Regions from separate parts of the Homo sapiens genome. Here all the other regions are linked to region 5. Evidence: promoter capture Hi-C in 16 types of primary human blood cells and fetal thymus (Javierre and others, 2016). All regions are on one chromosome and are shown on one strand. The core of a region is centred on a gene start or on the middle of the fragment in contact, and the rest is flanking DNA. Distances in the headings are between cores, read along the strand shown. Region 1 overlaps ZNF214 (zinc finger protein 214). Region 2 overlaps NLRP14 (NLR family pyrin domain containing 14). Region 3 overlaps NLRP14 (NLR family pyrin domain containing 14). Region 4 has its middle 31 kb from the start of RBMXL2. Region 5 holds the start of OVCH2 (ovochymase 2). Region 6 overlaps NLRP14 (NLR family pyrin domain containing 14).

The links. The method cuts DNA at HindIII sites, captures the fragments that hold promoters and counts their contacts. A CHiCAGO score of 5 or more calls a contact.
Region 1: a contact is called between a fragment that was not itself captured here and the fragment with the promoter of OVCH2 in region 5, in 1 of 17 cell types (M2 macrophages). The highest score is 6.4, in M2 macrophages.
Region 2: a fragment that was not itself captured here is called in contact with the fragment with the promoter of OVCH2 in region 5 in 4 of 17 cell types (naive B cells, endothelial precursors, M2 macrophages and 1 more); the score reaches 6.5 in naive B cells.
Region 3: a fragment that was not itself captured here is called in contact with the fragment with the promoter of OVCH2 in region 5 in 3 of 17 cell types (M2 macrophages, naive B cells and M1 macrophages); the score reaches 5.6 in M2 macrophages.
Region 4: a contact is called between a fragment that was not itself captured here and the fragment with the promoter of OVCH2 in region 5, in 13 of 17 cell types (M2 macrophages, naive B cells, total B cells and 10 more). The highest score is 11.6, in M2 macrophages.
Region 6: a contact is called between a fragment that was not itself captured here and the fragment with the promoter of OVCH2 in region 5, in 4 of 17 cell types (M2 macrophages, total B cells, total CD4 T cells and 1 more). The highest score is 6.8, in M2 macrophages.

The regions. Positions count from the first base shown.
Region 1 is chr11:7,010,558-7,014,223 of GRCh38, reverse strand. All of the region lies in intron 1 of ZNF214 (zinc finger protein 214), which reads left to right. Among named protein-coding and RNA genes, the nearest start is that of ZNF214, 8.0 kb to the left of the region's middle. The HindIII fragment of the contact is 2,307 bases long and covers 350-2,656 here.
Region 2 is chr11:7,062,636-7,066,685 of GRCh38, reverse strand. All of the region lies in intron 10 of NLRP14 (NLR family pyrin domain containing 14), which reads right to left. Among named protein-coding and RNA genes, the nearest start is that of RBMXL2, 24 kb to the left of the region's middle. The HindIII fragment of the contact is 572 bases long and covers 1,941-2,512 here.
Region 3 is chr11:7,029,433-7,033,489 of GRCh38, reverse strand. The region is part of intron 1 of NLRP14 (NLR family pyrin domain containing 14); the gene reads right to left. Among named protein-coding and RNA genes, the nearest start is that of NLRP14, 11 kb to the right of the region's middle. The HindIII fragment of the contact is 2,742 bases long and covers 895-3,636 here.
Region 4 is chr11:7,117,654-7,121,632 of GRCh38, reverse strand. No RefSeq gene overlaps it. Among named protein-coding and RNA genes, the nearest start is that of RBMXL2, 31 kb to the right of the region's middle. The HindIII fragment of the contact is 1,133 bases long and covers 1,703-2,835 here.
Region 5 is chr11:7,705,080-7,709,167 of GRCh38, reverse strand. OVCH2 (ovochymase 2) reads left to right here and starts at 2,691. Exons shown (of 16, transcript NM_198185.7): 1 at 2,691-2,861. The coding sequence starts at 2,774. LOC105376533 (a long non-coding RNA gene) reads right to left here. Exons shown (of 11, transcript XR_007062576.1): 7 at 3,513-3,573; 8 at 2,890-2,943. The HindIII fragment of the contact is 6,680 bases long and covers 1-3,464 here.
Region 6 is chr11:7,046,479-7,050,075 of GRCh38, reverse strand. NLRP14 (NLR family pyrin domain containing 14) reads right to left here. Exons shown (of 12, transcript NM_176822.4): 5 at 3,244-3,408; 6 at 238-405. Among named protein-coding and RNA genes, the nearest start is that of NLRP14, 28 kb to the right of the region's middle. The HindIII fragment of the contact is 3,423 bases long and covers 235-3,597 here.

The DNA of each region.
Region 1 (3,666 bases), core at 254-2,753, 690 kb after region 5:
TTCCCTTATCATTGCCAGTAGTTTTCAGCTGATTTTCTTGGATCTCTCAGATATGCAGTCATATCCTCTACAGATAATTTTGTCTAATTGCATTATGCTGTAGTTTCACAGTAGTTTAAAAGTTGTGGACTTGCAGTATCCTTGTCAAGTTTCCAGTTTTAATGAGAATGACTTTAATGCTTTATCTTTGGGTTTAAGATATGTTTGTATGTCTTCTGCTTTGTTTTGTTTTGCATGCTTTGTCTGTAGTTTTAAATGAAGGATGCATGTTGAATTTTAATAAGTATACTTTTTGGCATCCATTACAATAATCATATGGCTTTTCTTATTTGATGTTATTATAAAAGCTTAAAGTTAATAGCTTTCCTAATTTGAACCTTCCTTTTCTTTCTGGAATAAACTACCACTTTACCATGATATAATATGCTTTGGTATTATAACAGATTGAATTTTCCAAAGATGGCCTTACTTATTGTTGGGGTGATCAGACCCAACACCAGGTCGTGGGGGTGACAAAGTCCGGCGGAGTCAAAGGATTGAGAAAAAGACAGTGAGAGAGAAAAGGAGGTGGGAACACCAGGGGGCCATCGCTATTGTACGGAGGCTGCGAAGGCCCCAAGCTCTGGGAGCCCACGCTATTTATTGGTAATCCAACAGAGAAACAGGTGGTGAGAATGTGGAGGTCAAAAGGACACGTTGCATTAAGCACATGATTTACAGCTGCGATAGTTTAGCATTTATATGGAACATGTTCTGCTACTTTAGATAGTGGGAATAGGAGCCTAGGAGGGCTAGAAGCAAGGAGCCAGCAAGTCTAGACACATTCCAAAGGACATTATGCAAACCCTGCCTCAGTTTCCTTCACAACACTCAGCTTTTTCCCAACACTTACAATTTATGCTGTTTTCATGCTCTTCTTATGATGTGACTGACATTGTTTCCACTGAAAGGTGGGGTCTGTGTCCCACCCCTCTCAAATACAGCCATGGCTTGTGATTGCCTCATCAGTGGAGTACAGTAGAAGTGATAGGATGTGACCTCCAAGGCTAAGTCATAAAAACAATGCAGCTTTTGCTTGACTTTCTTTTGGGCAACTTGCACCATGCTGACAGATAGCCCCCGCCACTTGAAAGGACCACGTGGAGAAAAAACAGATCTCTCATCAACATTTAGACCAGCCTGCCAGCCATGGGAGTTAGCCACCCTGGAATTGAATCCTTCTTCTCAGTCAAGCCTTTTGATGACTGCAGATGTAACCAACAACTTATCTTGTGAGATCCAAACCAGAGCTGCCTAGCTAAGCCACTCCTGAATTTGTGACCCAGAAAAAAAAATAAGAAATAGTAAATAATTATTGTTGTTTTAAGCTACTAAATGTTGAAGTAATTAGTGATATGGTAGTAGATTATGAATTCAAGTGCTGCTGGATTTTACTGGCCTTATGTTTCACTTTATTTCTGACGTCTTGAAGAGTTTTTCGTTTCTGATGCCTTGAACAGTTTTTGATGCCTTGGGATAATTTCATAGCATCAAATAATCTGTTCTTTGAAAATTTGAAAGAATTTGAGAAAACTTTTGTTCCAGTTATTTTTAAAGGTTGTAGTTGCTATTTCCCTAATCTTATTTTTATTTTTTTCTATTTGTGCTCCTTTTCCCCCCTTTGATTAACTAGCTTGTGATTTATCTACTTTGTTATTAATATTTTTCCTCTCAAAGGACTGGCTCTTGGATTCATTTAACAGTGGTAAATGTTTTCAAATTCCATCTTTTTTTTCATTAATTCCATCTTTTTTCATTAATTTTATAGTTTTCCCCTTAACATTTAAGTACTTACTTGATCTATATACTTAACCATTGTATATGGTATTAAGTTGGAATCCAGTTTTATTTTATCTCATATAGTTAATCAGTTTTCATAATGCTATCTGGTAAATAATCCTTACCTCTGTCTTTGATTTTTAATGCCACCTCTATTGTTAATATGTTTTTGTAGATAAAGAAGCACATTGGTTAGTCTCTGAGCCCTCTGCTCTGTTCTACTGGTCTATTTGTCTCTTCTGATTTTACTACTGTAGTTTTGGTGATATGTCAGTATCTGGTAGTCTTCCTGTTTGGTTTACTTGTCTTTACCAACTTATTTCCTTCCTTGTCAATTTTAAGGAACAGAAGTCTATTGCGTTCCTCAGAATAGCCATCTGAATATTTGACTGGAATGTATTGAATTTAAGTTACTGCATCCAAGAGCGTGGAAGCATGCTTCTCCTTTTATTTAGATAATCTTTCTTCTTTATTGGAATGTGAAAGTTTTCTTCAAATAATTATTTGTATTCTTGGTTAAGATAGGGTTTTTTTTCTGGTGTGAATGGTATCTTACTTTCTAGTAGTTGATTGCTGAGTCATTAAACTATTTATTGTATCTGATAGTTTTGCTGAACTCTCTTAATTTATAGTTTATTGTATACTCTTTTTCTAGGTAGATGGCCATAACTATGCAAATAATGACATTTTATATTTTTGCTTCTAATTCTTGTAGCTCTTAGTTCTTTTTCTTATAGTATTTGCCAGAATCTCTAGTGCTGTGTTGAAAGCAGCAGTGACGGTGGTCATTCTTGTTACCATTGTAAAGGGAATATATGTGAAGTTTCTCCATTAAGCTTAAAGTTCTTGATATTTAACCTTTGCCACTTTAGGGAGTTTATTTTTTTCCTCTAGTTTGCTACAAGTGTTTTTAAGAGAATACATCGGTGTTGAACTTCCTGAACTTTATAGCACTTGATTTTTCTGCATCAGTTGAGATTATCATGGATTTATTCTATAGTCTATTAATATAGTGAATTGTGTTAATAGATTTTTCTCATGTTGAACGATCCTTGCATTCCTATAATAAACTGTCTGATCATGATGCATATATTTGATATATTACTGAATTTAATTAGCTAATATTTTATTTAGGATTTTTGTATATTTACAAAATTTACAAATGTGCCTGTAATTTAATTTTATTTGTATCATTCTTATCTGGTCTTGGAATCCAAGATTATACTAGCTACATAAAATAAGTTGGCAATTTTCACTCTCTACTTTTGAAAACTATGTATTGTAATAGTAATTAAGTTAATTACATGTTTGCTAGAACTCAGCTATAAAACTCTTAGAGCCTTGGGATTAGGGAGAGGGAGGAAGAGCATGGCTACCATTTTAATTTAGTACTTACTAGTCTATATGATTTTTTATTAGTCTTTCATCTATTTTGCCATTTTATTTTTTTTATACTTCACTGGGAATTGATCCATTTATTTAGGTACATATTTAGGTGTATTTGCCTATAGCTCATAAATATCCTTATATATATAGTTCACAACACCCTTGCATCATTGAAAAATCTTATGTCAAAAGTTATTTCCTTATTTTGCTCTGTATTTTTTCATAACCGTGTTATTAAAAATCTGATTTTCATTGGTCTGACATTAAATTTTTAAGAACATCTTTTGGCTTTATGCATTTTCTCAATCATTTATTTGTTTCTTATATCTTTGACTTCCACTTTATTCTTCTTTTTTGAAGTTTGCTCTTTTTTTTTTTTTTTAATGGGGGATGGTTTCTCTTTTTTATACTCCTGAGCTGAATGATTTATTTCTAGCCATTTTCTTAACTTTTATTTTAGGA
Region 2 (4,050 bases), core at 977-3,476, 640 kb after region 5:
GAGCTTCTGTACAGCAAAAGAAACTGTCATCAGAGTGAACAGGCAACCTGCATAATGGGAGAAAGTTTGCAATCTATCCATCTGACAAATATTCAGAATCTGAATTTAAACAAATTGACAAGAAAAAAACAACCCCATCAAAAAGTGGGCAAAGGATATGAACAGACACTTCTCAAAAGAAGACATTTATGTGGCCAACAAACATATGAAAAAAAGCTCATCATCACTGGCCATTAGAGAAATGCAAATCAAAACCACAGTGAGATACCATCTCATGCCAGTTAGAATGGTGATCATTAAAAAGTCAAGAAACAACAGATGCTGGAGAGGATGTGGAGAAACAGGAACACTTTTACACTGTTGGTGAGAGTGTAAATTTGTTCAACCATTGTGGAAGACAGTGTGGCGATACCTCAAGGATCTAGAATCAGAAATAACATTTGATCCAGCAATCACATTACTGGGTATACACCCAAAGGATAAGAAATCATTCTACTATAAAGACACATGCACATGTATGTTTATTGCAGCACCATTTGCAATATCAAAAGCTTAGAACCAACCCAAATGCCAATCAATGATAGACTGGATAAAGAAAATGTGGCACATATACACCATGGAATACTATGCAGCCATAAAAAAGGATGAGTTCATGTCCTTTGCAGGGACATGGATGAAGCTGGAAACCATCATTCTCAGCAAACTAACACAAGAACAGAAAATCCAACATCCCATATTCTCACTTGTAAGTGGGAGTTGAACAATGAGAACACATGGACACACAGAGGGGAACATCACATACCAGGGCCTGTTGGGGGATGGGGGCTAGCAGAGGGATAGCATTAGGAGAAAAACTTAATATAGATGATGGGTTGATGGGTGCAGCAAACCACCGTGGCACGTGTATACCTATGTAACAAACCTGCACATTCTGCACATGTATCCCAGAACTTAAAGTATAATTAAAAAAAAGAAAAAGAATACTCCTAGAAAACTAGGTGTAGAAGGCAATTTCCTTAAATTGATAAATTGGTGAACCACTGAAGTTGTGCTTCAAACATTGTGAACAACATATGAAAGTTCATTATCCCCAGACATATTAACATTATATCACATATATTAACAGTTACTAAGGCATATAAAAAATGAAAAAAGAATATAAGAACAGAAAAGGAAAAAACAACTACATTGTATTATTCCCAAATGATGTGATTGTATACCTAAAAAATACAAAAGTATCTACAAATTAGCAACTAGAATAAGCAAGAGAATGTGGCAGGCTATTGGATAAGAAACCAACTTTAAAAACTCCTATGTTTCTATGTATAAACACAATGAAAAAATAACTAAAACAATCATTTACAACAGCATGAAATATAGTAAGCACTTTGGAATAAAGTTAACCAGTAACAAAATACAAGACCACTCAAGAAAAAATTACTAAGCTTTATTGATAGACCTAAATAAATGAGATATGTCTTTTTGGTGTATCAGGAGACTCACTGATAGATTTAATGCAATTCGATTCAATACGCCAACATATAGGTAGGTTGGGGGGCAGTACATATGTATGTAACTTGATAAGTTGATATTTCCAATTTATTTGCAAATGTAAAGGGGAAGGAGAGCCAAAATTCTCTTTAAGAAGATGGGAAGAATTGCTGTAGTGCGTATCAGGGCTTATCATAGAGCTATATTAATTAAGACAGCATTGTTAGAACTGGGAATTACAAACAGGTCAGTGGAAAGGAAAACAGAACCCAGGAACAGATCCACGCACCAATGAAAATGTGGTTTATAACAAAGATGTCCCTACCAAGCAGAGGGGATAAAAATTTCAATACTTTTTGCTGGAAAAAAAAAGAGTATATAGGAAAATTATAAAATTGAACTTTACAGCTACATATATTTTTAAAAGGTAGATTAGAGGCTCCAAAGCTTCCTAATTTGCCTTTGATATTCAGATAATATAGAATTGGTATATAATGTATAAGATATAATGGGTTTCTGTAAATATTGTAAAGATGCTTTTCTCTCTCTCCCATTTGTATGATTCCTCCAGACCAAAGGTCTCCATGCAAGTAAAGGATAATTGGAGAATAGGTGAAGTTCTAGCCACTGGGATGGCACAAACTGATTTCATTGGTGTAGGGGAAGAGCAGCAACAATATTTGGAATGGAACACTTTAGAACCTGGAGGTGTGGAGAGTGAGGAGAACAATTCACTCTCTCTTTTTTCTCCTAGATCCAACACCTTGGCCTGGCAAAATAATTATGTGGTCTGTGGAGTCTAAGCAGCAACTGCAGCTGACAGACTGACCCTCGGCCTGGTTTGTCATGCCTGTCTATATACTATGAAAATAGAAAATCTCATGTAGACATAGCAGGTCCTGAACTACTTTGCTGTGCCTGATGCCATCAATAGCAACCTCCTAATGTGGAATCTTATCATATGTATACAAACACAATCACTAGCACAACCTTGTTTCAATTCGATACAAATCTGCAAGCTTCTCTTGATGCTAGAACAGCCTTGGACTATACCACGTATGAGAATGAGGAAGCTACAACTACCAGTGAGACTGCTTACCTGGCTTAACCAAACTAGTGCAATGGCTAACCAAATAAAATATAACAGCAAATCCAAAATTAGAGTGACCTCTACCCCTTTCAGTTACATGTTTGCATGTGGGGAAGAGTGGACTGCTAACTGTCTCTTTACTGGGGAGGAGGGCTGCTTTTGGCCCATCTTTGTTTATTTATTGCCAGTGACACCAAAGAATGGCAGCTCATTTTAGACTCCCTTGTATGGGTTCTAAAGCATAAAAGACCTAGTAGTCCTTCCTGGGACTTACTCAGTTGACTGAGTCAGACCCCTGTGGGAATGTTTGAAATCAATACTACAAGTTGGGCTCATCACATGCTTGGAGTTTTGTTATTAGTGGCCTTAATTAAATGGTAGATGAGATTAACTGAACAGATTTGGTCCCAGTCTCTGTTAATCAGAGTGGCCAATGGAGTAGCATATTTATGTGAAAATTCACCAGAAGCCAAGATTTTACTGTGTAGAAACAAGGGGTAGATATTTTGGGGAGATATTCTTCCATAGGTCTTTCTCTCTGCTACATGTTTGCTAACAAAAATGCAAGGCCCTGACAGCGCTTTACCTGGGCCATTTTCCAGGATTGTGTTTGTAATGAGCAACCTTGAGGGACAAACAGCAGGCTTATTACTGCCTCCTGTAAAATCCTAGGTCTCTCAGTCTCAATGTTGCATGTGCAGGCATCCATCTGGACCCTCTTCATCAGCCCTGTGAGACTCGGGGGACAAAAGGAACTGACGCAAACATGCTAATACTCATGCTCTTGCTCTGCTACAAGCAATAAAGTCCTTTGTCTCTCCTAAGAGTCTTGTGGGTTTGGTTTTGTTTTTTGTCCAGCATCCATGAAACAGTAACCGGTGAATTTATTAGGTTGTAAGTAGGATAAAATTAAATCTCAGACCTAACAGTTACATCATCATCATTGCTATTATAAAAATATATAGTCAATGGAAATATAACAGCTTCATTTTCTTGGAAGAGTCAGGGGAGATTTCTCTGGAAGACTGTTAAATTTCTAAAGGATGACACATGTCATTATGTCTGAGCTTCCCACACATAGAGCACAATTCTTGACCCTGAGGTCAATAATTCATGTTGTATAAGTGAAAATGTACTAGCCAATATCAGTTCAAAATTAAATAAAAATCTAAACACAGAATTGAACGTAAGAAATGTCCACAACACAGAATGTGATTTTATTACAAGCTCCTTAAGAACATAGTATTTTACAGATAGAAGATAATTAGTAAAAGTCTTCAATTTAATAAAAAAATTAATTCAAAGACAAGTAGACTATCTGAAGGATGACAGAACATGAAGACCCAAACCAGGTACCATTTGCGTACTAAGTATCTGTCCAAGGTACTAAAGGGGACACAAAGAAATGTGAAATATGGCTTCTATACTAAAGAACATGCAGTACATTGATCCATTTATTTGAAATTTAG
Region 3 (4,057 bases), core at 1,016-3,515, 680 kb after region 5:
AAAAAGAACACTATGGAAAAACTAGTGAACTTCAAATTAAGTGCAACTTAATTGCCTTATTGTCTTCATTGTGACAAATATACCATAGTAATGCAAGATATTAAAAATTGGGGAAATTGGGTGACAAGAAATTTCTGTAATTCTAAAAAATACTATTCTAAAATGGTTATTCCTTAAAACTGGAAATATACATACACTATGACAGAGCAATTAAAGTTCTTAGAAAATATCCAATAGAAATATGTGTGTAGGTATACCAGGAGATATACAATAACTACAGCAGCACTGCTTGTAATTCCTAAGCACTTGAAAAGATCCAAGAGTTCATCTATAGTAGAACCAATCAATACATTGTGGTAAATTCGTACAATGAAATCCTAAACAGCAAAGAAAACATATGATTGAAGCTATATGCCACTAGAATAAATCTCATAACTAGTGGAAGAAGCCAAATCAAACAAGATTATGAAGTAGCTATTATAAAAGTCCATTTCCTAATACCTCTGTGGAGATGAGGTGGAGGGGGATGAAGGGGGCCTTATGTCCTGGTAACGAATGTCCTATTCCTTGACCTGCTGATGTTTTACATGAGTGAACACTTGGTAATCATTTACCAAGCTGCATGTTTATGCTCAGTGCAGTCTTTTATGAGTTACAGTTCACACTAAAATATTGTCTTGAAAATGTTCATATCCCTAAAATGACATGATACAAATAGATCAGAATAGCAATAAAGCAAATTTATTGTGAATAGCCTATTCATAGAAGGGGAAAAAAAGCAAAAAGCAAATGGCTAACAAGTATTTCAGAAAATTTTCAAACTTAGGCAGATAGCACAACTAATGCAAACCAGGAAACAGCCCTTCTCAAAGAACAAAATGACAAAAATAAGCTTTAAAAAGCAGTACCATATAAAAGGAGTTAATATAAATGTTAATTGCTACACTCTTGAAAAACTGCATGTCTGCATGTCTACTGAGAATTTTACAAACATGCATGAGTTTTCAAACAGTATCTTCTTTGGGAAATCATCCACTGAAAAAAAAATCCTAAATACAGAAAAGAAAGTTTTGTGCATAAGGGTGTTTGTTTAGAATAGTAAATAATTGTCAATAAGGATTCAATTATAATGAATGTATAAAAATATAGCACACACTTGATTTTTAGTCATGAAAATGACCTCGTCATACAGCAAAACAGTTGGCAGGTATATGAAGATTACAACTAAGCAAAGAAAACAAAACCTCTACATAAAAAAAACCAAAATGTACTTAAAATAATTACCACAAATTGTCCTAACTCAAAACACAACTGAGTTTAGGACAATTTTTGACAATTATCTCTCATTAGAATACATTCCTTAAATAAGTGGAGAAATAAAAAGGTAAAAAGGCAATATCCATTTGCCAAATTCCAAAAAGTTAAAGAAATGAATGCCTGCCATCTGTACTTGAATTTGGCGTGTTGGCAATAATTGCTAACTTGCATAGAGAGAGCAATTTTGGGTCACTGCTGGAGTAGAGGGAGTGGGGGTGCTAAAGCACTAAAGCACTATAGGCTAGAGAGGATGACCAACGCCGGGAGCAAGCATGTGCTACCTTACTAATATTTCTTGAACTTTGCTAGGGAGAAGTGGAGAGACAGATACTGATAACCTGGAGCACCAGTGAGAGCAGCTGTTGCACCTGCAAAGCAGTTTTCAGGCGGTTTGTTTCGTTTTCAGTAGGGAGAGGGGCTAGGGGAAGACTCAGAGTGAATGAAAGACGGCAGAACACAGGTGGCGGGAATAGCTTCAGACTGAAGGACGAACACCTGCTCCTGGTTAGAGAGGCGAGGGGCTTGCCTCCATTCGTCAAGGCTGGTGAAAGTGGGGCTATTCATACCGCTTTAATCCAGGAGATTCAAGAAGCGGGCACTGCACGCAGTGCCTGCCAAATTCAAGCACAGTTGGCAGGCATTCATTTATCTCTTTGGAATTTGACAAATGGATACAGGCCACACTAGGTCTCCAGCCGAAGACTACTTGCAGGTGACCGTGGACTCGCACCCTCAAGGTCGCTTTTCCACCCTGGTCATGGCCGGCGCCATGCCCAGAAGTGTCCCACCCTGGGGTGTCCTGGCAGCTCATCCTCTTGGGCCCTGAGTCCACATCCCTTTCATTTTCCACACAGAATGTGGACGCTGGATGGACTCGCACAGAACCCAACTTCCCATTTTAGAGTGGACAAAGTACGCATCCAGAGAAGAGGAGAGTCATTCCATACCTCGGTCTCACCAGGCGTCGGTGGCAAAGGGTATAAGCGCCAAAAGCCAGGCCTCAGAAGGACAGGAAAGGATCAACAGGCATTTGCTGTTCCACCAGAAAGGGGAACGCACTCTGGCCCTTAATGCCTCACCTTCCTCCTCCCCTGAGAGAAGAGCAAACCCGCTAAGAGGGCTGCGGGCCAGCGTGGGTGGTTGGACCCCACCGCCTGACCTAGCGAATCTCTCTTCCCATTGGCTGGAGGGGCCAAGGGAGCTCTGCTCCCACTCTCCGCCTCTATGCTTGCTCTTCCACTCATTTACCGCAGAAGATTCAGTGTTCAATATAGGATCCCCTGCGCTCAGCAAACCTGTGGGCGCACGTCCTTCCTCCTTGCTTTCCCGATGTGGGAAAGAGGAAGTCGGGGAATTGAACCCCAGCTTTGAAGGACCTTTCCCAGACTGGCTGACTCCCAATAAGCAGTGTCCCTTTATTCGTCCATCTAAAATCCGTACGATTATTGAGCATCTTATTTGTGCCTGTCAGTTTTCTGGACCCTGTCTAGCAGTGAATAAAATATCCAAAGTCTTGCTCATCTAGCCCTTACCTCCATGGAGCTTACATTCTGTTGAAGGGGCACAAATAATGAATTGTAGTATACCAGGTGGTAATCATTGCTATGGAGAAAATCAGAGTGGGGCAAGGAATACAGCGCTGGGGGTGAAAAGTGGGGGTGGGTCCTATTTCTCTTTGAATAGCAAGAGAAGCCACTGCTAAGGCGATATTTGCAGAATGTGAAAGTGTGAACAATGCAGATATCTGGGAGATGGAGCATTCCAGGAGGAAGAAATAGCAAGTGCAGAGACCCTCAGTTAAGAGCCTACTCGATATATTTAAGGAACAGCTGAGTCAAATCGACCACAGTAGTCACCAAGGCTGTGTGTTGATTTATGGATAGTGCAATTTCATTCAAATCCTACATGACTAGAACTGCTCTAAGATGAATTCATGGCCTTGGCCCCTGAAGACAGTCTTAGAAGCTAATAGATCCAGTAGCTTCAGGATTGAGAATTGCCTCTCAGATGAGAAACCTCTGGATCACATGGGTAAATGGATGCTCTGTTCTGATGGCTTCCTTTTTCTAAGGATTACCCATTTGGAACAAGTTTTCATATTCATATAGCAGCCAGATTTGGGTGATTTATCCTTATTTAAGACAGCATTTCTTCAGCTGGACTCTTCATGGAGAACTTTAAGCGTTATTGGCAAAGGAGGAGCCAGTATTCGTTGGCATTAAGAAAATGTACACTCTAGGCAACTGATACTAAGGACTCAGGCATGCTAGTTAGCAAGATGGGCCCAACAACCTCAATAACAACCAGAAATCAGAAGCTTAGATTATAAAGATTCATACAAAAACTACCTCAAAAGGATAACCAAGTGTAGGGTGAGAGAAAAGGTAAACTCTTTTTAGTTTGGTTACAACATACTATATTAAATTGCTATAATGTGCTGAATATTACATTCACGAGTATGTGCATCTTAAGAGAAACTATAAATTCTAGGTTTGGTTTTGAAATTGTTTCTAACATGCACATAAAACCATGAAATAGAACATTTTTGCTGTCCCATGAAAGATATCCGTATAAATATTCATACTGTTATTATCTTGTTCTATTTTTGTTTTGGAAGGACGTGTGCCCACAGGTTTGCTGAGCGCAAAGATCCTATATTGAACACTGTATCTTCTGTGGTAAATGTGTGGAAGAGGATAGAGGCGTTTATATATAAACTTATATTTGGAAGTGTTATTTC
Region 4 (3,979 bases), core at 1,020-3,519, 590 kb after region 5:
AGCAAAGGAAAGTACAAGAATATTCTGGTTCAAGTTCTGCCTGAGATAAAATGCTACCGTTGTCACTTTTCATTTTCTTCCGTCTGAAACAGTTTCTGTCTTTTCTCGTTCATGATGTTGACATTTTTGAATAGTACAAGCTAGCTATTTTGTAGAATTCCCCTCAACTTGAGTTTAATAATGCTGCTTCAATATTAGATTCAGGTTATGCATTTATGGCAGGAACATCACAGAAATGATGCTATGTTCTTCTCAGCAGATCATAACAAGAAGACAATGTTGATTTGTATCATTCTAAATGATGTTAATTTTTATCACTAGATAAAGGTGGTGCTTGCCAAATTTCTTCACTATAAATTTGTAGTCTTCCCTTTACAATTAAGTATTTTGTGGAGAGATCCTTTGATATTACATTAATATCTTATTCCTCATCAAACTTTTACCCACTAGTTTTATACTCTATTGATGATTCATGCCTAAATAATTACTATGATGTTTGCTAATAATGACTTCCTAACTTTCTATCATTCCTTCTACATTTACTAGTTGATTCTGTACTGTAAGAAAGAGCTTTTGCTTCTCCCATATTTCTTTAATCATTTATCTCACTATGGACTCACTGATCCTTATTTTAATCAATAGGTTATAATTCATTACTATCTTTATTTATTTTGATGCTGAAACTCTCCCAGTGGTCCTTCTGGCTGCTTACTGTGTCATTTTGATAAGTCCACATTGTTTTTAATCATTCTCTTGTTTTATGACAAATCAAGATATTTTGGGCTCATCTTGTACTTTCCTTGCCCCAGCCCTGGAATTAAACATTTCTCTAAAAAGTCTTTGTTTCTCTTATTGGAGAAACATACATATATAAGTCCAGATCTGGACACTATGTGTGTTCTTTGCTGCTGGGGCTCCATTGCTTTTAGGCTGTCTCAGCAGAAAAAGCTAGAAAATATAGAAAATGTACACACACACACATGTATCTATCTACACATGCACATACAGGGCTATGTCCTTTTCCTTTCTTTCACTCTCTCTCTCGTGTGTGTGTGTGTTTGTGTGTGTGTATAATATAAATATATATCTCTCTCAAGAGTTCATCATACTGGTATCTCCAATTCTGATGGAACACCATTCTGTTCTAATTTTCACCCTTTAAATTATTGAATATCCTTTCTCTTACAGTGAGAAACTTGGCTCCCGTTACTTTTGGCCATTTCCTTTATTTATAAACAATGCCTTTTTAGCTCCAGCCCCACAGGATCCATTAGCCAATGCTGTCTCCTAGGCCCTAAATGCCTCCTCCACCCAGGCCTTGCAGTCTCGCAGGAATAGACATTTTTGCAATTAAGCATCAGAAGAGTAAGAACAATAATGTAAACAGACCAGGGCCTTAGAACTGCCGTGTTGGTGGAACATGTGAGTGATAATCCAAGGCTGCATAAGGTTCAGTGTACATACAAAAGATGGAGGGGGTGGTTAGGAAAGACTTTATGTATAAGCTAATCACTGTTCAGCCCTTAAAATTATATCTGGCAAAGAGAAGAGACAGAGAAGGTACAGGTAGAGTGCACAGCACGAACAAAGATATGGAGGTATGAAACAGATTTTTCTATTCAGAAAATTTTAAGCAGAAGACAAAACCTGCAGAGAGAACTGCAATGAGAGATAAAGCTGTACAATATGCAGGATACAAGCTTTATACATTATTTACAAAAATGTTTAAAAGTTATTCAATAGTTAATGGGGAGCTATTGTCTAGTTTTAACATGAGAGATATTTTAGTTCTAAATGTGAGTTTTTAAAATGCCACTTTGTCTGAAGCATTGAGATTAAAATTGAAATGGGGCTACACTGAAGGTGGCAAATAGTTAAAAGACTGCTGTGATATATCAGGGAAGGGATCTAGAAGGCACTGAACCAAGGCAATAGCCATGTGAATGGAAATAAGAAGGTGGATGCAGAAGTGTTAAGGAGATAGAATCAATATGTTTTAATGATAATTAGAGATGGAGAACGTGGAAAAACTTGAAACATACAGGGACATCTATGATCCCTGCATAGGAGACTGAGATCATGGTAGTAACATTCACTGGTAGAGTATAGAGAGGGTGTTTTAGAAAGAAGATGATGAATTCAGCTTGTGACTTCTTGAGTCTCTCTCTTAGCCAGCTCAGGCTGCTATAACAAATTACCATCGACTAGGTGGCTTGAAGAATAAACATTCATTTCTCACAGTTCTGGAGACTGGAAGTCTAAGATCAGAGTGCCAGTATAGTTGGGTTCTGGTGAAGGCCCTGTTCCAGGTTTACAAATGCCCATCTTCTAATTATATCCTCAAATAGCAGAAATAGGTATCACCTCCCTTGTGTATCTTCTAATGAGGGTACTAATCCCACTCTTGAGGGCCTCACCCTCATGACCTAATTACCTCCCAAAGACCCTCCCCCAGTACCACTGCACTGGGGGTTGGGATTTTTCAATGTATGAATTTCGGAAGGACACAGACATTCAGTCCATAACCATGTGAGTTGCCTGTTGTATATCCAGTAAGATATATGAACTGAGCAGTAGGTCTGACGCTCCCAATTGAACAAGACTGAAGATAAAACTCTGAAAGTCACTAGTGTATTAGTGGTAGTGGAAACTGCAATAATCGATTATACAACCTAGAGAATTTTGTTCTGTGAAAAGAGAAGAGACAGCCGAGAACAGATCCTGAAAACAAAAACATCCAAGGGATGCCTAGAAGACTTGAAGACTTGCAAAACAGCCTATGAGAAAATGATTGAAGAATGAGAGGAAGAAGCAAGAATGTTCAGAAGCCAAGCTTATGGGAGTGACTTCTTGCTTTAAGTCACTTTTGAATAGCTCCCCACAATACAGCTTTCTCAATTAAAAATAGCCAAACAAACAAAAGGGAAGAAAAATGTACATTCAGTGACAAAAGCCTAAAATTAAAACCAATTCCTAATAACATCAGAATCTTTTAGGAATCTCCCACTCCATTCCTTAACACTCTCATGCTTTGTCTCATACCATTGAGGCTCTGAAAGCATGAGTGGAAACTAATATATAATTCATAATCAGCTAAACTACCCACAAACTACTCCATGACCACCTTCCTCCTGGCACATTTTTGTGTATATATATATATATATATATATATGTCTTCATCTCATCCATCAAGCTGCTCCCTCCACCACCCATCTGCAAGGTTTTCTCATCATCCATGTGTGTACCTTTGATGCACCCTCCTCAAAGTTTAATGTGCACTGAAATCAAGTGGGGATCTTGTTAAATGCATTTTAATTATAGGTGGAGTCTGAGATCCTGCATTTCTAACAAGCTCCAGCTGATACATCACTGCTGATCTGAGGACCACACTTCGAGTAGAAAGGATTTTTCTCACATCTCCACCTGTTTATAACATACATTCTTATATATGGTCTCTCAATCTCTGCCCTTTTATTTCCCCATTGATGCCTCTTTCAACGTTACTATGCCCTCTACTCCTTTCTGCTGATCCACTATGCATCTGTAGCTTTTATTCTGGCATTCAATAATGTTGTTATCTTCCTCACTTCATTCTTATCCTGTGCCTTAACTCGACACAATTCCTACTGCTCTTTCCGTTGGACTTTACTTTGCATTAGGAAAGCAAGCTGATTAAATGAAGCCACACTAGTGTGTTAGTTCCTAATAGCCATTTTATGCCTTTCTGGGTGTTTGTTCAATGAACCTCTCAGGAAAGTAGGCTGATGCAGGGAGATTTTCCTTAAATCATACCAAGTGGCATCACTGTGCAAGACCAGGCTTGTGGGTTGAAGGGAAGAAACAAGAAGAACATGGTCTTCCAAAATCTCTTAATTTTCCCTGAAACAGGAGTTGCTCCTTTCTCCTTCTCTGATTGCTTTTTGGGGCTTGGGGCTTGAAAATGCCAGGCATTTCAGACTCCAAATTCATAAGAGGCAGT
Region 5 (4,088 bases), core at 1,442-3,941:
CCAGTTGGTGTTTTCCCCTGGGAGGGAGATGTGAGGGGGTATTTGGGCCCATGGGGCAGGGCAATTCCAGGTGGCTGGAAACTTCAGGGAGAATGAGAAGCAGACAGGTCCAGAAACCCAACTCCTGGGACTCTCTACCAGACAGTACATTCTGTTACTTTCTCTGGGCCACTGGAGGTGGCTGAGAACATTCCTGGTGATGAGTGTTTATGGCACTGTTGACCAAAATTGAGGCTGTCAAGACAGAAAAAAATCTATAAAGGTTTATTGAACCTCAAATGTGTGGATTGACCCAGGAAGACACAGCAACAAAGTTGGAGTGTTCTGAGGTCTGTCAGAAGGTGAAAGGTTTTGACAGAAAAATCTGAAAAGACAGAGAGAGATTGCTCATACTGGAGTTGTTCTCTTTTCATTGGAGGGTACAATACAGAAGTTATAATCATTAGCTATGGATTATATCACAGGGTTATAGGAACACATTAAAGTCACAGCTCTGCAATCAGCAAAATACAGAATGTAGAAAATGCTAAAGGTCTAAATAACCAATTCTTTCAACAAAAATAATTGCTGCAAAAAAGAGAGAAGAAGGTTATAACAGGTAGACCTGAGATTTTCTAGGTATAGAATCATATCATCTGTGAAGAGAGACAGTTTTGCTTTCAGGAGAAATTTTGATACTAATTTCTCAACTTGGGGATTTACAGACAGGGAAAACAATGTATTTGAATTCCAAATCCATGTTTGGTGCAGACTTTGGTCCAAGATTCTCAAGAGAGATTTTTTCCCCTTTAAAAGGTTTAATAGTTTCATGAATGAAAAATTGATTTTATACTACCATGCCAAGCAACACTTTAATATATTCCTGTCTGCAAGTAACTACAATGTACAGTTATTATAATTCCTATCCAGACCCTGGGAGGGTTGAATAGCTGGACTTACAAAAATATAGTGTCTTAGAACCTGCTACATCCCCCATGAAGAGCAAATATTTTAACAGCAAGGGGGCCACATTTTAGCCCCTTAAGAGATGAAAGTAACAAACTCTTAATGACCAGCTTCATGTGGTGAAGAGTGTGTTGATGTGTACTGATAGTTGTGCTGATGCAAGAGCTTGAAGCAAATACCCTCTCCTGAAATTAAGCACTAAGCAAGAGCTCATCATATTTCTGTGTGACAATCAATAAAAACGCTCCACTCCCACATTTTACAAAGGAAAACTCATCATTCTTTCAGTATAGAGTCAAATTTTATTGTCCTATGCTATGTGCCTACTTTAGGCTTGTCAAGTTTAGTGCATCCTAGGCCCACACTAGGTCTTTCTGCACTTTTGACATTAACAGTATACACATTTTAGACAGAATGTAGTGAATTTGGGGTCAGAAAGGCCATATTCCTAGTCAAGTTGCTCTCAAAAGTGATTGATAAAACACAATAGCAATTTAAAGGGAGCTTGCTGTCAAAGAAAGATTGAGACTTTGATTAGGGCTTAGACATTGATTGATTACCTCTTGGGGCTATCACTCCATACCAATAGCCAAAAATGTTTGGCATCAGGATTACAGTAGTTATAGATAAAGCCTCAATAGAGGTTTGAGTTTCCTTCTTTCCATAAGGCTACATTCTTGATTAGTGTACCTAAATATGTAGTGCTTACAAATGTTAAGTTTTTACACCTTCTCTGTTTTGCATTTATATTATTTGTATGTGTTGTATTTTCATACTTTTTTGTACAAAGACAAAAGTTGCCAAAAGGAAATTAAGAGCTTTTGGGCTGACATTTGTTATTTTTAGTGGGTAACTTATAAAAGTTGACAGAAAAATGTTATATTTCTATCTGGTCATAGATGGCATTGACCATCCTATAAATATTTCTCACACACTGACCATGTGCCCAAAACTCGTTGAGGAAAGAGGAAAATGTACAGGTAATCATAGCCACTTTACTCTCCCAAGCATCTACCAGGCATAGAAGTAAAGGAGATTTAGTGTTTCCCTTCTATAAATACAAAAATGATAGGAGAATGCAGAGTCACAAATGCCCCAATGTACAGTATCCTAGATGACTTTCTAACAGCAGGGCTTCCTGAGTGTGACACCCAAATATCTTTCCACTTCTCTCATTCACCAACATATGTTTATAATAACCATGTAGTTACATTTGCAAAATAAGATAAATAAAAATATTTTAGAATATTGGCTGGGCGTGGTGGCTCACACTTGTAATCCCAGACCTTTGGGAGGGCAAGGCAGGCAGATCCCTTGAGCCCAGGAGTTTGAGATCAGCCTGGGCAACATGATGAAACTCCATCTCTGCCCAAAAAAATTATATACATTTGGATGGGTCGTTTGCAAAAAAGTAGGGAAGTGTACCCTTGCAAACAAGGACAACATTGATAGTCAATCTTCTTATAGAAAGTGGTAAAAGTGGTAAGCTCTACAAAGGAGCAAGTAATGTTTGCAGATGCAAATCTTACATGCTAACCACTTTGCTAGCCAGATACACTCTGGAGGAATCAACTAATTGGTGTAGGTGTAATAGGATATGTAATATTGCTTGATCAAGACTCTGCTTCTGTGGTTGTTTCTCCACATCTTCCAAAAGATCTTTGCGAAACACTACATTCAGAAACATCAGATGGACATGCTTGATTCACCACGTCTTGGTTAATGAATAAACTTGTTTTAAATTGGCTTATTGCTGGTCTCTCAAGGCTTCCTATTTTTGTTTGCTTTAGTCTCTCTAAAATTTCAGGGAAAAACTATGAGTCTCAAAATGCTTATAAGCAGGAACAAGCTGATTTTACTACTAGGAATAGTCTTTTTTGAACGAGGTAAATCTGCAACTCTTTCGCTCCCCAAAGGTAAGTTTCAAATGAACTCTATAATTACCTTTGTCTGAACCTTTGCTGGCAATGGACGTCACAACTCCGAGACTCCATGTTCCTTTGGGAAAATAGGAGAAGCAAATATATTTTGGATATCTAATTGTTTTTAAACAATTATTTTGGACTTATCTCCTGCAATCGGCATAGGACACAGGGTGAAACATTTATAGAATGCAACTAATGTATCCAATTAAGTAAACAATCCCTGTTTTCTTCGCTTAGTTTTCCTAAGTGAACTGAGATTGTTCACTTACTTGAACCCATTACATAATCCCATCTTGGTTCATAGAGCAAATTCTGGAAATCAGCATGGATTTGGAAGCATTTTTAATCTTTTACAAAATCATCTTGCTGAGAAATATGAAGCATGTTCACTGTAGTATATTATAAATGGTCTTTTTTCCCCTTCAACTAACTTAAGCTGAAAACAGTTCTTGGAAGATTTCTCCTTGGTCAGACTTGTGCCAACCCTGAGAATCAACATGTTTTCTGACTTTGCTTTACTGAATTTGGGAAATAGTAAATTTTGTATTTAAAGTATTTATGACTCATTCAACTGAAACAGTTAGAAAATAAGCTTTTGTTCCAATGTCATCCTGGCACTGGGTTCAGGATCAAAACACTTACTGTTACATTCATGCTCTGCCATTATCCAGCTGTGTGTCTCCTTGATTCTCAGTTTTCTCATCTGCAATGTGGGGATAACAGTGCTTCATTTATAGGCATAGAGTGGGATTAAATGAGAAGCTGTATGAAAGAGCTTTGAATATTTTAACATGTTGATCTAAATAGCTATACTCTTAAGGATGTGTTCTCAAGAAAAGTCATTTGTTTGTCCATCCAGTGTTTCTAAGTGCTTACTTATGCCAAGAATTAAGCTAAACCTTAGAAATGCAGAGGTGAATAAGGCAAGTTTTTTCCCTTGAGTAGTTCATAGTCCGATGATAGAGGCAAATAATTCATTATCACAATTCTGCATGACAAGAACTATAAAAGGGGTGAAGAAAGCGTGCTACACAACACAAGGGAGAGGCAATCCCACTTTGAGGAAATCAAGGAAGACTTCCTGGTTGAGGTGATCTCCAAGCTGAGGAATAAGAATTACAGAATTTAGGTAGGCAATGAAGCATGGTGATTATGAAGCAAGGCTAGTTCTAATCCTCCTTCAAAATATGGAAAAGGATGACCTCCAGGAGGGACAGA
Region 6 (3,597 bases), core at 697-3,196, 660 kb after region 5:
TTAGGAGATGGAGACACAGAGAACTACACAATGAGAAATCTTCCTGGGGAGATGGGAGGAATGAGAAGTCCTACCAGGATGAAATCAGCTTGATTCTACAGATGCTTGCTACCCCATATCATGAAAGTAGATTTAAGCCGGTCCTATGAATAGCAAATCCAGGCTGTAAGAGTCTACTTGGATAGACAAAAGCCTCAATTATAAAAACAAAACAAGACAAAACAATTCAAAGCTTACCTGAGAGTCTGTAGTTTACACTCTGGGTGTTTCAAGGCCTCACACAATGACTTTACTCCATTATCCCCTATATCACTCCCTTTTAGGTCAAGATGCATCAGATTCTTGTTATGAATCAAAGAAGTAGAGATATCCTGACAACCATCAGGGAAAGTGATAAATTTCAACCTTCAGAAGAAAAATATGCAGGAGGTATTACAAAACCATTTCTCTCCTTGGTTACAGGATCCCTTTCTTTTCAATCTAATTCTTGGATATTACATGAATATTCTTTTATCTTATTTTCATCTAAAACAATTGGGTTATAACTTCAATTTCTATTTATGACCTGATAATTGACACTCCCCAGTTTTTTTTACCTTAACGGAAAAGAAGGTGATAACATCATGAAAAGCAGAAGAGGAGCCTCTTTAACTTGTAATCCCAGGAATGACTATCAAAAATTATCAGGGCCATTCCAAGTACTACAATAACATTAATTCACAATAGCCAAATCTTTAAATAATCCAAGGTTAATTCAAAATTAGCATCAACTGTCTGATGTGCAGTAATAACAAAACGCTGTTGCAAAACATGCTGTGCCATCTTGGGGACTTCGTTAGGCATACGGAGGCAGGTGTACGGAGGCAGCCCAAGCAAAATATTATGAAGTTAAATCTGCCAATTTTTTTCCTACTTTCTACCTCCTAACTCAGTCAATGTCAGATATTTCTGATTCTTCTATAGTGTCTCTGCTAGTCCCCAATGCCCTTCTGTTCACTGTCCAAAACCTCGCTTTGTAACACCACCTTTCCTCCTTTCGGCCCACCACCCACCCTCCACCCTCACTCCCCTCACCCCAGGCAAGTACACACAGGAAAATAAAGCCTTTACCCATTTATAGCACTAACCATCCTCATCTAGTAAAAGTGCCTAAGGCACTCAGTAAACATAAATGGCACCATCTCACTTATTAGGAAAAAGGGACCACAGTAAGACAGACCACATTAAGGTGGCACAGACTGAGAACAGTCATCATGGTGTCATCCCACTGATGCAACCCTCCCATTCTAAGAAAGGAAGTCAGTTAACCAAGAAGGCATTGGCTATTGTGAAGATCCGGATTGATGACATCCAATGAAGGGACAATATGGGGGAAATGTTTAGGGATGAGTGGAAAGGACTTCCAGGAACCCCGTAATCATAACATACATCTAGTTGTCTTACTACATCTATATGTAAGACCAAGCCTACTCTAGATGCTTGAAATCTAAGGTCAGAACTCACTAAAAACACTGAGATCAGGAGGAAAATATTTGGTGAGAAGCCTGTCCCCAGCCCCCACCCAAAAGAACATCTATTTTCAGTGCTAATGGAAACAAAGATCTATCATTTGTTCAGCATTCAGTTCATACTAAGCAACAAATGTACCTTGTACATATTGACAGGCACAAAATACAGAGATTAGGATCAGTTTCAGCTCCTAGTGGAGTCCTTACACAAAAAGGTAAGAGACATGTGAACAATCAACATTTTAAAGTGATTATCTAGAATCCAATTAAGATAAATTAAAATTTAAAAAAGACTGACAGCATCTAATGTTGGCAAAGATTACCCTTATTCCTAACAGGTTAGGGAAACCTCCAGGGGTCTATTAACAAGAGAATGAATAAACAAATTATAGTATAAGTATAGTTATACAATGGAATACTAATCAGCAATAAAAAAGAAACTACTAAAAGTTGCAACAAAATGGATAAATTTTAGAAGACATTTTGTTGAGCACAAGAAGATGGATATAGCCAGGTGTGGTGGCTCATGCCTGTAATCCCAGCACTTTGGGAGGCCAAGATGGGTAGATCACTTGAGGTCAGGAGTTTGAGACCAGCTTGGCCAACATGGTGAAACCCTGTCTCTACTAAAAATACAAAAATTAGCCAGGTGTGGTGCTGCGTGCCTGTAGTCCCACCTACTCGGGAGGCTGAGGCAGGAGAATGGCTTGAACCTGGGAGGCGGAGGTTGCAGTGAGCCGAGATTGTGCCACTACACTCCAGCCTGGTGACAGAGCAAGACTGTCTCAAAAAAAAAAAAGAAAAGAAAAGAAAGAGAAAGAAGATAAATTAAAAAAAATACATACTGTATAAATCAATCAAAATGATTCCAAAAAGATACAAAGCTGAACTCTGGTGACAGAGATTAGAAAATGATTGTCTCTGGGAATGGATGGGGTGAGAAGATTGAACAGAAAGGGATAGGCTGGACATTGTGGCTCATGCCTGTAATCCCAGCACTTTACGAGGCTGAGGCAGGAGGATCTCCTCAGCCCAGAAGTTTCAGACCAGCCTGGGCAACACAGTGAGACCACATCTCTACAAAAAATTAAAAAAAAATAGCCTGGCATGGTGGTACATGCCTGTAATCCCAGCTACTTGGGAGGCTGAGGTGGCAGGATTGCTTGAGCCCAGGAGTTCTAGCTGCGATAGCATCACTGCATTCCAGCCTGGACAACAGAGTAAGACCCTGTCTCAGGAAAAAAAAAAACGAAAGGGGTACAAGGGACCTTTCTGAGATAAATGAAAATATTTTCTATCTTGTTTTGGGTGTGTTGGTTATAAAGATGTTTACACTTGTCAGAACACAACAAACTGAACATTATTTGTGGACTTTGTTAAATGCAAATTTTTCCTCAATAGAAAAAAATTTAAGAGGATAGTAAGTTCCAGAACATGTCCTTGAAAGTGCATTGGTGACCTGCCTAGAATGTTTTAGCTCTGTGCTCTTCATTTAGAAAGTTCCTAATCAAGCCTGAAAAACCCATGTGAACAGCTACTATGCCCTGTGGAATCACTCTGAGAACCAGTTAGTAATGATCCCATGTCCCCAGAGGATTCCATTGTTCCTGTTTATTTTACAAAATGGATTGTAAGTATTTGTTTAGCATTGGCTTCCCCTAACGAGTATGAGTGGAAGATGGGACACAGAAAGAAATTAGAATAACTCCATTAAATTTTCTCATACCAGACTTACAGTAGCTTTTGTAGTTTACAGTTTGGGTGCCTTAGTTCATGATGCAGGATATTCATTGCTGATTTATCAAGGTTGCTATGGTACAGGTCCAATTCTCTCAAGTGTTCATTTGTATGAAGCACAGAACAGAGATCTTGCCAACAGTGAGTAATGCGATCACCATCCCTTTGCATAAATAATTGAGAAAAGAAAAACAATGCTGATTTTATTTCAGCCTAGCCAACTCTCAGAGGATAGTATTGGAGTAAAAGTAAGTGTACTTTGGAAAGGCAAGAGCATCCAGTGCAGCTCCACCGTGGGCACAGTCCACCAGGAAGTCTTCCTCTGGGCACTCCAGAGGTCTTATTTGTCCAA